Linked DNA regions of Homo sapiens: all the other regions are linked to region 3. The links are contacts of gene promoters, found by promoter capture Hi-C in human tissues and cell types (Jung and others, 2019). All regions are on one chromosome and are shown on one strand. The core of a region is centred on a gene start or on the middle of the fragment in contact, and the rest is flanking DNA. Distances in the headings are between cores, read along the strand shown.

Region 1 (5,006 bases), core at 58-2,557, 370 kb after region 3:
AAAGATGCTACAAAGATCTGGGTTGGTCTGTGACTACTGGAAGAAAGGGAAAAGTTGCCAGGCTTCACAGAATCTTCTGGGTGGCCATTTCACTCTGCTGAAAATTAGGCCTGACAATGGTTTATGTTTTTTTAAGAGATCACTCATGGACCCATTCAGCATACTCACAGCCCTTGGCAACGTTCTGATGGGCTTAAGGCAACAGTGGACTTCACCTCAGCTTTCATTAAAATCCCTCACCCCCAAAAGCTGACCTCCAACAATACAGGAAGCTTGAAATGGAGTAAGTCACAAAGCCAGGTGTGTTTAGACCCATCTTCTCATTCTGGGTGATCTGGGCCTCTCGCTCGGCAGCAGGCCTGTTCATGTAGCCAACACTTAGAGTCTTCTCTGTTTCCAAACTACTTTGGGGAATCAAATTAATTTGCATTGTCAGTTTGAGGGAGAAGAAAATAACCCATAGGACAGAAAGGATTCCTTCATTCTACGACAACATGATGTTCCATTTGGTGGAAACAAAAATGAGTATTTAGGTAAAAACATTTATCAGCCCCAAAACTCTAACTTTGTAAAAACAGAATAGAAGATACTAGAGGCTGAAAAGTGTAAAGGGAACAGAGGGATGGGGAGAAATTTGTTAAAGGTCTCAAAATTACAGCTAAAGAGGAAAAATCAGTTCTAGTGTCCTAAACCACTGTAAGATGATTATACTTAACAATAATATATTATATAGCTTCAAATATCTAGCAATCATATATTACAATATTATTATTACATAGTTTACAATTATTATGTAATATATGATTGTTACTATGTATAATCATATATTACATAGTTTCAAATAGGAGAATATTGAATGCTTATATAGTAACATACATAGTAACATTCATATATTACATAGTTTCAAATAGAAGGAGGATATTGAATGCTTCCAACCCAAAGAAATGATAAATGCTTGACAGGATGGAGATGCTAATTAACCTGATGTGATCACCATAATGACATTAATATGTATCAAAACATCACTATGTATCCCATGAATATGGACAATTATTTGTCAATTTAAAAAAATCAAATATTTTTCAAAAACTCTAACTTTAGAGGGAAAGGAAAAAGGGAAAATAGCCTGGGTGCAATGGCTCATGCTTGTAATCCCAGCACTTTGCGAGGCTGAGGTGGGTGGATTACAAGGTCAGGAGTTCGAGACCAGCCTGGCCAACATAGTGAAACCCTGTCTCTACTAAAAATACAAAAATTAGCCGGGCATGGTGGCGCAAGCCTGTAGTCCCAGCTACTCAGGAGGCTGAGGCAGGAGAATCGCTTGAACCCAGGAGGTGGAGGTTGCAGTGAGCCGAGATTGTGCCACTGCACTCCAGCCTGGGCAACAGAGAGAGACTCCGTCTCAAAATAAATAAATAAATAAATAAATAAAAGGGAAAATGGGGAGAAAGAGCTATTGGAGACTGTGAGATAATGGTCTCATCTTAGACCCTCTTCTCCAAAGAAAAGAAAACAGGCTTAGAGGTGGCAAGGTAGAACTGAAACACAAATCTGGGCCTTCCACTAATATATGAATGTCTTAAGACTGAGATATAAGGCCTGGCGTGGTGGCTCACGTCTGTAATCCCAGCACTCTGGGTAGCCAAGGTGGGCAGATCACCTGAGGTCAGGAGTTCCAAGACCAACCTGGCCAACATGGTGAAACCCCGTCTCTACTAAAAATACAAAAAAATTAGCCAGGCATGGTGGTGGGCACCTGTAATCCCAGCTACTGGGGAGGCTGAGGCAAGAGAATCACTTGAACCTGGGAGGTGGAGGTTGCAGTGAGCCGAGATTGTGCCACTGCACTCTAGCCTGGGCGACAGAGAGAGACTCCATCTCAAAAAAAAAAAAAAAAAAAAAAAAAAGACTGAGAAATAGCTTTGCTCTCTTAATAAAAAAAAAAAAAAAAAAAAAGCAGGACATGGAAAAGTCCCCTCCCCTGACAACTGCAATTTCTCAAGTCTTATCTGCCGGCAAACCTCACTATTAGTTCAACTTCACAAAACAAACAATTCTTATTACAGGACTCTTAGTCATTCTGTTTTTCACTTTCTTCCACAGAGCAGAAGCCATTAGGTCTGGGTATCCTCTCTCTGCCCTCTTTTCCCAGACCTGGTTCCCAGCCTCCCGCCTCCTGCAGTCAGGTCTGCCCGAATCGGAGCACCATGAATCACTTCCTGTGGGCAGACTGCACGCTTGGGGGTGGGATTTACTTTCTTTCTTTCTTTCTTTTTTTTCCTGGAAAAGATTCTCACAGACTTTTGGGGTAAAACAAGTGGAACCAGGCGATGATAACTGGCGGCCTTGTTCTATCAAAACAAATCTTAAAGTTTCCAAAGACTTAGAGAAAATGTCAGGCGGGCATTCCTGACTGGGGGCGGGGGTTGGGGAGAGGTGAAGAGGGCAAATGAGGAGGTTTTGTGTTAATTGCACAGTTTTGACTTCCTTAATTATGAGTCACCGGCTAGAGAGATAAAACAATGTCACAAGTGCTGCATAACATGCAACGGGTCAACCGGGCGACTCAGTGACATTCACGCGGAGAGGCAGTGCCTCAGGACAAGCGCTCACTCCAGTGATTTTACAACAATTCCTAGCAAATGTCACACAGTATGGTTGGGACATTTACAACCATCTCAGTCTTATGACATTTACAACTCAGTCTCTTCTTTTTAAAAGAAGCCCCAAAGCCTTCAGGATTTGCAAACCTTTCAGTTAGCCACTGTTGGGTATGAATGGGGAGCTGGAAGTAAAGGAAGGGTGGGAAATGACCATGTTTCTTGAAAAAGTTAGTTTAAGGACCATGGAGGTAAAGAGGTACCTTTACATGCAAAAAATGCAGCATTTGCATGACAGCAATTGCTAACGTTCCATACACATTCTCTTGCTTTCTGAACCAAAGCTTTACAAGCTTATATAAGCAGTTTCCATCCCAAATGGTAACAAAGAATGGGTGCCCTGTATATTCTGGCATCTGTACCCTGAGGACAGTTAAGTGGCCAATTAGCATTCCTTTCTGTCTAAGGGTACAGACCTCCTATTGTACCTAAAAAAAAAAAGGTTCTGGTTCATTGGGGCAATTCACCTAAGACAGCAAAGAACCCCTATGGGCAGGAAAACAGGAATTCCACACAAGCAAGAAAGGAGGACTTCAGAGAAGCCAGGCCCACACTTAACAATGTCAGGGTGGCAACAGCCCTCCTCGATTAAGCCGGCCTCATCAACTAAGTGGCCCTTGTCTGAAAGCTGCATCCCTAAAACAGCTACAATCAGGAACAAGCAAAGGGTTCCAGGTGAGGCGTCCTCCCGCTGGGTCCTAGATACTTACAACTCTCCCCGGTATCAGCCCACCCAGTCCCAGCTGAGATTCAGAGCACCTGCCCACCCACCACCTCACCCCCACTTCCTAGACAGGCCTAATTTACAGGCATAGAAACTCAAAATGCTGAACAGGCCCAAGTAGTGGAGGTAAAATGTTGCAGCCACAGTATCTGAATGTGAGGCTCCTGCACTCTTGGCCACCAGCATAGTGCGCTGAGGTGCAGGTGGGGACAGAGCCCTTGGAGGTCCAATTATCTTCCAGCTCAAACAGTAACCCACTCTGTGGCTCTCTGCTAAGAATGACCTCTCTCCATCCTCCCCTCCTCGAACTCTTACAGTCCACCATCCCCACTGTCCCACACTCTTCAAATTCATCATCATTTAGCACCAAAGGCCTGGTATGATGAAGTGACTTCTGTGTGTTTCTGACTTCCCTTCCCAACTGTGCCAGGAGCTCCTTGAGGGAAAGGAAACCTAGCTTAACTTTGCCTGCATCCTGGATGGAGCGAGGGGCTTGCAGGTCACATTTGCTCAGAAAATAGTAATGGTAATGGAATTATTAGCTGATAGCGTGCATCAGCAACTGGTAAGCTTCATAGTACCTTTCAGAAGACGTAGGAAATAAGCAAAGATCTCAGGCTGCCCACCAGCCTTGTGAACCCGATCAAGAAGTCAAGCCTCATAGCAAAGGGATCCACAGACGCACATTACTGCCATGGGCCCAATACCAGAAATGTTCTTTAAGCAATCAGCTGGTCTTGAGAGGTGCAATTAAAAACAGCAGGGGAATGACAGCCACAGGTGCCAGTTAGGCGAAAGCAACCAGCGGGGAAGTGCAGGAAGCTAAAATGTTTTTGAATGAGGAAGCTCTGCCCACTTGCCATACCAGGGAGAGAGAGTCATCTGTGGCTAAGGTTGTAGGCAGACATTAAATACAGCGATTTGCAATAAACTTGCTCAACAAATATTTGTTAACTGGAGATTTTTATCAAGTGTTGGATTTAATAGAGGAGAAAGCACACAGATATATGGCCCACACTGGGGATGGACTGGAGCCCTGGCTGCTCATTAGATGACAGGGGTGTGTGTGGCCCTCCCTCTGGCTGTGCTACCGACTCATGGAGGAGTCTTTAGGTATGGATTATCTCATTTAAAAAATGATGGGTTCAACGGATCTCTAGTGTCTTCTCACCTTCTAGTACCTTCTAGCATTCCAAATACCTGTGAAATACACTAATTTGCAGGGGGAAGTGGCTTAAAGGTGTTCTGTGTCTACACTTCTCATTCCTTCAATGCTTTTAGGCACCTAGGGCCTTGGAGAAAACCTGAATCATAATATAGCAGCAGAGCAAATAAGTAATCAAAAATGTGGACTACCAACAAAAATTCCTCTTCCCTACTGTACATGGAGCAACAAACAGAAAGGATGAGAGAGAAAACTTCAGAACTTTGACTCTTTCTGCAGGTTAGAAGCAAACACAAAAGCCAAGTAAGCCCCAAACCCGACGCCAACATCAACTAAACAGTGGCAGTCGTAGCTGTCATGTGGGATATAAAGGAATTAAATTGATTTCAAACAACTTCCTGAGAGAGGAGGTTGCTTTAAACCAGAAAGGTGAGGGAGGCTGCAGAATTACTGACCT
Region 2 (4,705 bases), core at 980-3,479, 450 kb after region 3:
CTTATGTAAATTAATTGACACCAGGCTGATAGAGTCTTGGAACATCAATAATTAAGAAAGATCTGTCATTCACTGATCAACTAGATGCGTGCAACTGGGAGCTTTTAAAATGTTTGTATGTGGCCGGGCGCGGTGGCTCAGGCCTGGAATCCCAGCACTTTGGGAGGCCGAGGCGGGCAGATCACTTGAGGCCAGGAGTTGGAGACCAGCCTGGCCAACATGGCGAAACTGGTCTCTGATAAAAATACAAAATTAGCCGGGTGTGGTGGCACATGCCTGTAATCCCAGCTACTCAGAAGGCTGAGGCAGGACAATCACTTGAACCTGGGAAGCGGAGGTTGCAGTGAGGCAAGACCGCGCCATTGCACTTTAGCCTGGGCAACAAGAGCGAAACTCCATCTCAAAAAATAAAATAAAATAAAATAAAATGCTTGTATGAATACCAATTCCAAGTTAGAAAGGCCCTCCAATAGAGTTTATCTAGCCTATTTTCCAGTTGAGAACATTCGAGGCCCAAAGAAGGTGACTTGTCCCAGGTCACACAGCTAATCAGAAACAGAGCCACGTCTAGAACCTACCAAGGTCTGCTGACTCCTACCTCCAAAATAATCCCCAAACTCTTGTTTATTAATTTTTCTTTGACAGCATTTATGGGGCAAAAAGGCCTGCTAAACAAACTTTTGCCTAGTCCAGAATTAGCCAAACTTCTTAATTAATAGGCTTCTACTGTGTTTTCATTTTAAACTGAGTCTCTGCCAAAACATTCTACAGCAGTTGCCACTGTGGCAGGCTGCTGTTTATAGGAAGGGTCTTAGATAACCAACAGTGGATAGTATGCTATAGATTTGTTTATTTCTCAAACTGTTAAGTCGAAACAAAGGATTATGTTATACAGAGAGAAAGAGAAAGAGAGAGAGAGATCCTTGTCAAGTCAATAAACTGCAGAGCTTGGGGGATGTGGTTTGGCACCAAAAAAACAGTATTTACAAATTAGCTAAAGAGTGAACACATACAGCATTCTTACAACTCCAAAGAACCTGTGTTTCACAGCCAGTGGACTAGAAGCTACAGAAGGCACCAGGGACAGTATCTGCCTTATTCACTATTTTGTCCGCATTATCTGGCACAGAAATTAGCACCTGGTACGGCATTAAAGGAAGGCATAAAAATGAACTGGACAAGTTCTCTTGGAATTGTCTCGGTTCTAAAGCTTAGAACACAGTAAAATTAGAAACCAAACTTCTGTAGGGTGGGCTTAGGATGGCAACTTCCCACTGTTTCCAGGAACCATTGTGCTTGAAGATGGGAAGACTGAAGGCTCCATGGCTCAGGGACTTGTCAGAGGCCAACAGAAGGTCATACCCCTCCTTAGGGAGGAGTTAGTCCCATCCAACACTGCACCAGCCATTCACGTCTGCACATGGCTGGTGAACTTCCACCCCCTGCACATTCAGCAGGCTGCCATCATGAGCAGCCTTCTTGGGCAGTTCTCTTGCCAGCCAACCAACACTATGAGATGGGGATTTGGGGGAGGGAATGGAGTCTTTAAGTTTTGCTTTTGTTTTAATCAGTCAATATGGCAAAGGAGAAAAGGGCAAAAGTCAATTAGGACTATTGATGAGACTTGCTGATTAAGAAAACTGCATTCCAATCTTAGAGAACTTAATTGCAATTACAGGAAGCTGAAGGAGAGGTGAATAAAGGTGGGAGAATAAGGTTAACAGGAATGAAAGCTGATTCCAATTTGAAGCAAGCCCTGCTTGGTCTTATTTATTTCATTAAGGAGCTCACGCAGAATAATGGCTGTACTGTGCATCAAATGGCATTAAAATCTCCTAATAAATTAACAAGTAAAAATTAATGGTCGCTCAGTTCATTAAATCGTGTTAATTTTATTCCATTATAATAATACAGCAATCACATGTTTACATTATTAAACCAATATTTATTTTTTAACTCATTTAGTTGGATTCCTGATGTGATAAGCTTGAAACAAATTCTTTCAATTTCATCAACTTCTTGCATTTCTCATCAGAATTAAATGCGACTGTATTCATATTTTTCTGTTATTAAAATTGTCATTTAAAACTTCACCCTTGCAAAGACTTTTTAAAAAATATACCACTAAAAGCACCTATGTTCATTCAGAAACTCAGGCGTCTAGGATTTATTCTCAGCAAGTGTTAACTAGAGAAATGAGAAGCTAGGTCACACCGAAGCTTTGAATTTCAAAACAACCATCTGCAAGTTGTCCACTTTTCATTTATTTATTTATTTATTTTGAGACAGAGTCTCGCTCTGTCGCCCAGGCTGGAGTGCAGTGGCGCGATCTCGGCTCACTGCAAGCTCCGCCTCCTGGGTTCACGCCATTCTCTTGCCTCAGCCTCCCGAGTAGCTGGGACTACAGGCGCCTGCCACCAAGCTCGGCTAATTTTTTTGTATTTTTAGTAGAGACAGGGTTTCACCGTGTTAGCCAGAATGGTTGTGATCTCCTGACCTCGTGATCCGCCTGCCTCGGCCTCCCAAAGTGCTTGGGATTACAGGTGTGAGCCACCGTGCCCAGCCAAGTTGTCCACTTTTTATTAACACTCCCTGTCATATTCTGAGCTGATACATCTAAAGTCCCTGTTCCCACCAAGGAAACCTGAATTTCAGTTTGCAGTACTAACTTACTTTTTACTTCAAAGAGAAAATGCTTTACAGTGGAGTAAAATATAGCACCCAAGTCACTAGCTGTTCAGTGCCAGTTACAAGGTAACATATTTATAGCAGCACTCAGTTTAGTAAAAGAGGATAAAGACGTCCTCATTCTTATAGGGAACTATCCCCATGTACCAAAAAGTTCCCAACATCATACTGCAGTCCAAAAAGCTTCCTTTGGATAACCCTTGTCCCCTTCTTAGTTTTCCACCTCTCATGGGTTCTCCTCCTCTCTACACCTCCTCCCACAGAATTAACTGTGTTTCCACATTGCTGGGCACTTAGCACATTCCTCAGCTGCAGCTCATGCCTCATACCTTTGGGCAAGTCTGTCTCCCGCTCTAGACAGGGAGCTCTTTGAGTACAGGGACCCTGCTGTGGTCATTGTAGTATGTTCTCAACGAAGGACTGAATAATTCAATAATGAATGAATGATGCAGAATGAAGTATAAACGTAACATACCTGTCAAATTCTCTGGTTCACAAAACACTTCCACAGAACTTATCTCATCCTGACTTGACAGGTGCAGATATAAAAGCTGTGAAACTTAAATGGATTCCCAAATCCTTGCAGGTGGTAAAATGGCAGGTACAGGACCTGAATTTTGTGTTTTTTTCAGAAAAAAACAGATGCCTGTCATTATTTTATTTCCTAACATAGTGAATTCTACAATATTTAAAAGGCACATCAACGCCCGCCCCCATCAAAAATCATCCATACTAGATCTCATATTTCTACTGGTAGCTGGGAATGAGAAAGAGATAGCAGTTAGATACTCAAATAATGCCCTATTCATGTTTCCCTTACTGATGTGTAAGCTTCTCACAGGCTGGGAGCTTCTCAAACGTGTCTCTGCATCCTCCTCTGGTACCTAAAAAATTGACTCAGACATGGGAGGGTCCAATAAATATCAATAAATCAACAAAATCCAGCCCTGTAACAACAGAGGGGCTGTCTGCAAACATTCCACTCCCAGGTGCAAGCAGCATGTTCCAAGGTTCTAAATGTTCCCAGGGAACGTCAAGTGGCGCCTAGGTTCAGCTGCAGCTGAGTCAGATCCCTCATCAGCTACCTATTGTCCTGCAGGCACCTCCTCTTCTCAGGCCCTACGTGGAACTCCCCTAATCAAACTTAACAAGAGCAAAGAGATAATGGACCACCTCCCTAGCAGCTGGAAGGGGGCTTGCTTCCAATGGGCCACACGGGCATGGTGCTCTGAAGTGCAGCCAAGAGAAAAGGGAGGCCTCTACAGCCTTAGTAATAGGTCTATCCCCAGAAATCTGGAAAAGGCATGTTAAAGACTAGGATCTTTTTCCTTTCTCAAAGTGAGAGTACCCTGGCAAAAGTCAAGGAGATAATAAGAGGAGGCTACAGTAAAAGATCAGATTCGGTGAGGCGCGGTGGCTCACGCCTGTAATCCCAGCACTTTGGCAGGCCAAGGCGGGCAGATCACAAGGTCAGGAGTTCAACACCAGCCTGACCAACATGGTGAAACCCCGTCTCTACTAAAAATACAAAAATTAGCTGGGCGTGGTGGCGGGCGCCTGTAATCCCAGCTACTCGGGAGGCTGAGGCACAAGAATCGCTTGAACCGGGAGGCAGAGGTTGCAGTGAGCTAAGATCATGCCACTGCGCTCCAGCCTGGGCAACAAGGCAAGACTCTGTCTCCAAAAAAAAAACATCAGATTCACAGGGAGGGAGTAGATGCTGTGTGTCAGACCTAGTGTTTGCTTCAATTCTCCAATTTTCCACTGGACTGGGTGCTCTGACACAAGAAAGCCCAAATTCCCTTCCAAACAAGCAATGCTTTAAGCTTGGTCTAGCTCCCAACAACGAGGCCAAGGCATGGATTCCCTGGTGGAAGTACAAGCTACCAGTGTCTACCAGAAAACTAAGTTTTAAGTGTGCCGAGCTCCTTATTCCTCATATAACGCTCACACACCAACTCTCATTCAGCGGCAAATGCTTTGATTCCATTCTTATAAACTGGCAAGGAAGATACCT
Region 3 (4,542 bases), core at 595-3,094:
CTGAGTATCCACTTTTTTTGGATGTCTTAATCTCTAAATCTAAAAGAGAGGCCCCTAATCATTAAGGTGCTCTTAAACAAAATGTCAACACTAAAAATGTGACTTTAAAGGAAAAAAAGGCATTTGGCTCATGGTTTACCTATAACTCTCCCGTTATGCTTTTCCTAACCTATTATTCTTTAGGGAAGAATGATTTCTTACTTATGAAAAATGCTAAAATAAACTTATACTTCTCGAATCTAGTTAACACTCCAGTCTTTCCAAATAATTTCGAATTGAATTTCCTAAGTCACCTCACCCTTCAACTTCAACCAACCTCCAAAGTAGTGGGCATGCTCTATACAGTCCATCAGCCAAATAATAAGAGGCATTTTTAAAGGATAACACGTTGCTAAACAATTATCTCCTTACAGGACAGTCCAGTGGAGTAACGGCTCAAAAAGCCCACGACTGACATATGTGTTATTATAAGCACAAATACACAGACTATTTTTAACCTTAATGGACGATCAGATTATGTAATAGTATTAGTAGTACGGCTGCGCAGGGTTTAGTTTTAATCCTGGCTTTAAAAACCTGGCTGGGTAACATGGTTCATTCAGCTCCATGGCTAGATTTTGAATCACTGAAATCTAGATTGATTTTATGCCAGCTATTAGTAAGTTCAAAACATCTTGAGGCCTTCTGTTTTCCCCTGACCTATAAAAGATACACCCATGTCCATGTTCGTACCTCCCTCTTCTGTCATTAAACCAAAAGAAAATAAACACCTAGTGACAGTAAACATCCTCAGGGCGTCTCCATGAAAATATACAAATATTAAAGATCTTTAAAAATCTTTTAGGCCTAGCACCTCAGGAAGCTGTTATGTCTGGTGAAAACCTTTGGTGCTTTTAGTAAAACGAACTTGCCGGGAATTCATACAAAGAAAACAAAAGAAACTTAAAAGAGTAGTTCCAGTTATTGCAACATAAACGCAGCTGCAAAGTGATGTTCACGGGAATGAGTCCTGCCATGCAGTAGGACGGATGTCAACTTCAGAGCCACTTTCTAGGGGGCGTTTCCTGACGCCCCCTGGCTTACTGCCCAGGCCAGGGGTCTACTCTGGTTAACATGGGCAGGACAGGAGGGCGACCCGCCCCTCCCTAGGCCCGAGGACGCGCCCGCAGCAGGCGAACGGCTTCGGGTGCCAGGAGCTCAGCAAGCTGGGGACCCCCTGGGCGAGGAGTACAAAGGACCCCAGGCGAAGCCGGCGCCGGGAGGCAGAGCTGACTCCCGCGGGACTCTACCGGCCTGCGAGCGTTCGTCACGTGCTCGGTGGCTGAGGGGCCGTCCCGGCCGGGCGGGCTTCACCGCGTGGGCGCGGCAGTCGCCACTCACCGAGGTTGACGACCTTGAGCGCCGTGAAGAAGCGGTTCTGCCGGGCCAGGTCCTGCCAGGGAGCCTTGGAGCAGTGGTACTTGATGAAGGGGAAGCAGCCGGTGCGCAGGACGTGGTAGTTGGCGCCCTGCACCGGCCAGTTGAAGTGCGAGAGGCCGAACTGGTCGTTGCGGACGGCGCTGTAGGGCACGCAGAAGGAGGTCCAGTGCGGCAGGCGCCGCTGCAGCAGATGCCGCGTCAGCACCTCCGAGGCGCTGGGCTTGGGGCGGGCGGCGGCGCGCGAGGCCCACGGCCTACACAGCAGCAGGCGGAGCGCGACCTCGTGGGCCCTCCTCAGGGCCTCCATGGCCCGCCGCGCCGGGGACGCAGGCTGGTGTCCGCAGCCGCTGGCGCGCAAGCGCGCCCCCGGGCGAGCGCCGGGAAGGCCAACCGGCGCCGCGCGGGTGCCCGAGAGCCCCCGGTGTGCGGCGGCGCGTGCGCACAGCGGCCCCGTGGCCTCCCGCTGGGGGTGGAGTCCGGGGGATGGGAAGCGTGAGCTGCGCGAGGCGGAGGGTCACCTGCGTCAAGGAGCTGGTTTTGAGTGGCCAGGTGTGACCTCACGCCGTCATTAGTAACTCGGGCAGGGGAGGGATTCGGGGAGGTCTCATCAATTTGGGCCTGAGGAAAATTCAGGTGGAAGACAATTAAATAACTAACCACCTCCGCAAGGTGCAGAACTCAAACCCAAGTCTCCCTCCCACGCCCTGGGCTCCAGGGAAGCCCTTGGGTGTTGTTGTTGAAACAGGACGAGGCGTGACCCCGGGTCTGCGTTGTTTGGTAAGGCCGGGAGCACTTTTGTGTGTAGGTCCTCGCTGTCGGGTTCACTGTTTAAAATTAGTCCCAGAGATTTCAAAATCAAAAGTTTATTTAAAAACCTCACGTGTCTCAGTGCAGCGTCCGAACACACAAAGGCACCTCCCTCTAAGAACCTGGTAGACGGACCAGGAGCCTCTTATCGAGCTTTGTGGACCTCAGTCACCCATTACCAATCCATTACTTTCGGAAAAGCTTTGCTCAAACTTTGCGGCCTCTTGAGGCAGTAACTTACGGACAAAACTGCTTTTAGAAAAGGATTTCCTCTTTTGTCCTAAACTCATTTTGTTTGGAGAGGCCATACATAAACAAGATGATGTGTCTGAAACCACCTTATGTAAATGAGGTACAGTAATTACGCGTTAAGCATCATATAACAATTACTATCGTTGCTAAAAACTCAAGGGGGATGTAGGATAGTATGGCGAAATTTTATATTCCCCAGTTTTTTGTTTTGTTTTGTTTTGTTTTTTTGAGACGGAGTCTCACTCTGTTGCCCAGGCTGGAGTGCAGTGGTGCAATCTCAGCTCACTGCAACCTCTGCCTCCCAGGTTCAAGTGATTTTCCTGCCTCAGCCTCCCGAGTGGCTGGGATTACAGGCGTGCACCACCACGCCTGGCTAATTTTTGTATTTTTAATAGAGACGGGGTTTCACCATGTTGGCCAGGCTGGTCTCAAACTCATGACCTCGTGATCCACCTGCCTCGGCCTCCCAAAGTGCTGGGATTACAGGCGTGAGCCACTGCACCAGGCCTATTCCCCAGTTTTTATTGAACATTGAGCACCCACCAACATATGCCGAATCTTGAACTTTACCTTACAGAATTTGAAGTTGAACTTTACCTTATAGAACTTGAACTTTATAGAATTTCTTTTTCTTTTCTTTTTTTTAGAAAGGATCTCACTGTTGTCTAGGCTGGAGTGCAGCTGCTCGATCTCGGCTCACTGCAACTTCTGCCTCCTGGGCTCAAGAGATCCTCCCACCCTCAGCCTCCCAAGTAGCTGGGACTGCAGGTGTGTGCCACCTACACTCGGCTGCTTTTTTTGGTATTTTTTGTAGAGGTGGAATTTTGCCATGTTGCCCAGGCTGGTCTTGAACACTTGGGCTCAAGTGATCCGCCCGCCTCGGCCTCCCAAAGTGGTGGGATTACAGGTGTGAGCTTCTGCACCTGACCAAATTAAATTTTGAAAAAGAGTGGAGTCCTTTTTCAAACGAAATCTGTTGAAGGTCCCCAACATATAAAGTTGGTTAAAACTTATGCTTTAGGCCGGGCACGGTGGCTCACGCCTGTAATCCCAGCACTTTGGGAGGCCGAGGCCAGTGGATCATCTGAGGTCAGGAGTCCGAGACCAGCCTGGCCAACATGGCGAAACCCTGTGTCTGCTAAAAATAGAAAAATTAGCCGGGCGTGGTGGCACATGCCTGTAGTCCCAGCTACTCGGGAGGCTGAGGCAGGAGAATCACTTAAACCCAGGAGGCAGAGGTTGCAGTGAGCTGAGATCGTGCCACTGCACTCCAGCCTGAGCGACAGAGCGAGACTCCGTCTCAAAAAAAAACAAAAAAAACAAAAATAACTTATGCTTTATTACTAAGCATAAGTTCAAACTTTTTTTAACTTTTTATTTTACTTATTTTTTAGGCGTGGGTTCTCACTATGTTGCTTAAGCTGGTCCAGAACTCAAGCCAGTCTCTCACTTCAGCCTCTTGAGTCGTTGGGATTACAGAAGCCACCATGTCCAACTGTAAGTTCAAATTTTTTATATTAACTTTATAGATAAAAAACAAAACAATGAAACTTCAGTGTGTTGTTGTCTTGGATTTTCTTTTGTTTTGAGCAGAAAGGGGATTCATTGGAGGAAAATTAGGTAGCCCAAATAGTAAACAAGAAGTCTAGAGAACCAGGCTCAGAAAATGGGAAGGAACGAGGAGAGTCCGAACAGCAAAGACATAGATAAGACCAACAGGAACTAGTCTGGCGAGCATGCCATTGCTGGCCCCACTGCCACAGGACTCTTGATCCTGTTGCTTGCAAAATGTTGAAGCTGGGGGTTGTGGTTGTGAAAGTGGATCCTTTGAATTGAGTTGTTCTTATCCCCAGCTAAAACAGTGGAAAAGCCAGGGGGAGAAAGCACTCAGGACATATGACATTACTTTAGAAATGTAGTTCTCGGCCGGGTCCAGTGACTCACGCCTGTAATCCTAGCACTTTGGGAGGCTGAGGCGGGCGGATCACGAGGTCAGGAGATCAAGACCATCCTGGCTAACACGGTGAAACCCTGTCTCTACTAAAAATACAAAAAATTAGCCGG

The links. Contacts are between HindIII fragments. The study calls those that stand out against the background at their distance.
Region 1: a contact is called between a fragment that was not itself captured here and the fragment with the promoter of C15orf61 in region 3, in 1 of the 25 tissues and cell types used here (neural progenitor cells).
Region 2: a fragment that was not itself captured here is called in contact with the fragment with the promoter of C15orf61 in region 3 in 1 of the 25 tissues and cell types used here (dorsolateral prefrontal cortex).

What each region holds. Positions count from the first base shown.
Region 1 is chr15:67,147,749-67,152,754 of GRCh38, reverse strand. All of the region lies in intron 1 of SMAD3 (SMAD family member 3), which reads right to left. Among named protein-coding and RNA genes, the nearest start is that of SMAD3-AS1, 3.3 kb to the right of the region's middle. RefSeq lists enhancers at 2,001-2,808, 3,616-4,423, 4,802-5,006. The HindIII fragment of the contact is 4,294 bases long and covers 1-3,454 here.
Region 2 is chr15:67,069,389-67,074,093 of GRCh38, reverse strand. All of the region lies in intron 1 of SMAD3 (SMAD family member 3), which reads right to left. Among named protein-coding and RNA genes, the nearest start is that of SMAD3, 6.1 kb to the right of the region's middle. The HindIII fragment of the contact is 3,577 bases long and covers 441-4,017 here.
Region 3 is chr15:67,518,433-67,522,974 of GRCh38, reverse strand. C15orf61 (chromosome 15 open reading frame 61) reads right to left here and starts at 1,844. Exons shown (of 2, transcript NM_001143936.2): 1 at 1,381-1,844. The coding sequence starts at 1,726. It overlaps IQCH-AS1 (IQCH antisense RNA 1), which reads left to right and starts at 1,131. Exons shown (of 6, transcript NR_040052.1): 1 at 1,131-1,456; 2 at 3,873-3,975. RefSeq lists enhancers at 1,418-1,537, 2,178-2,257 and a silencer at 1,648-1,997. The HindIII fragment of the contact is 11,118 bases long and covers 1-4,542 here.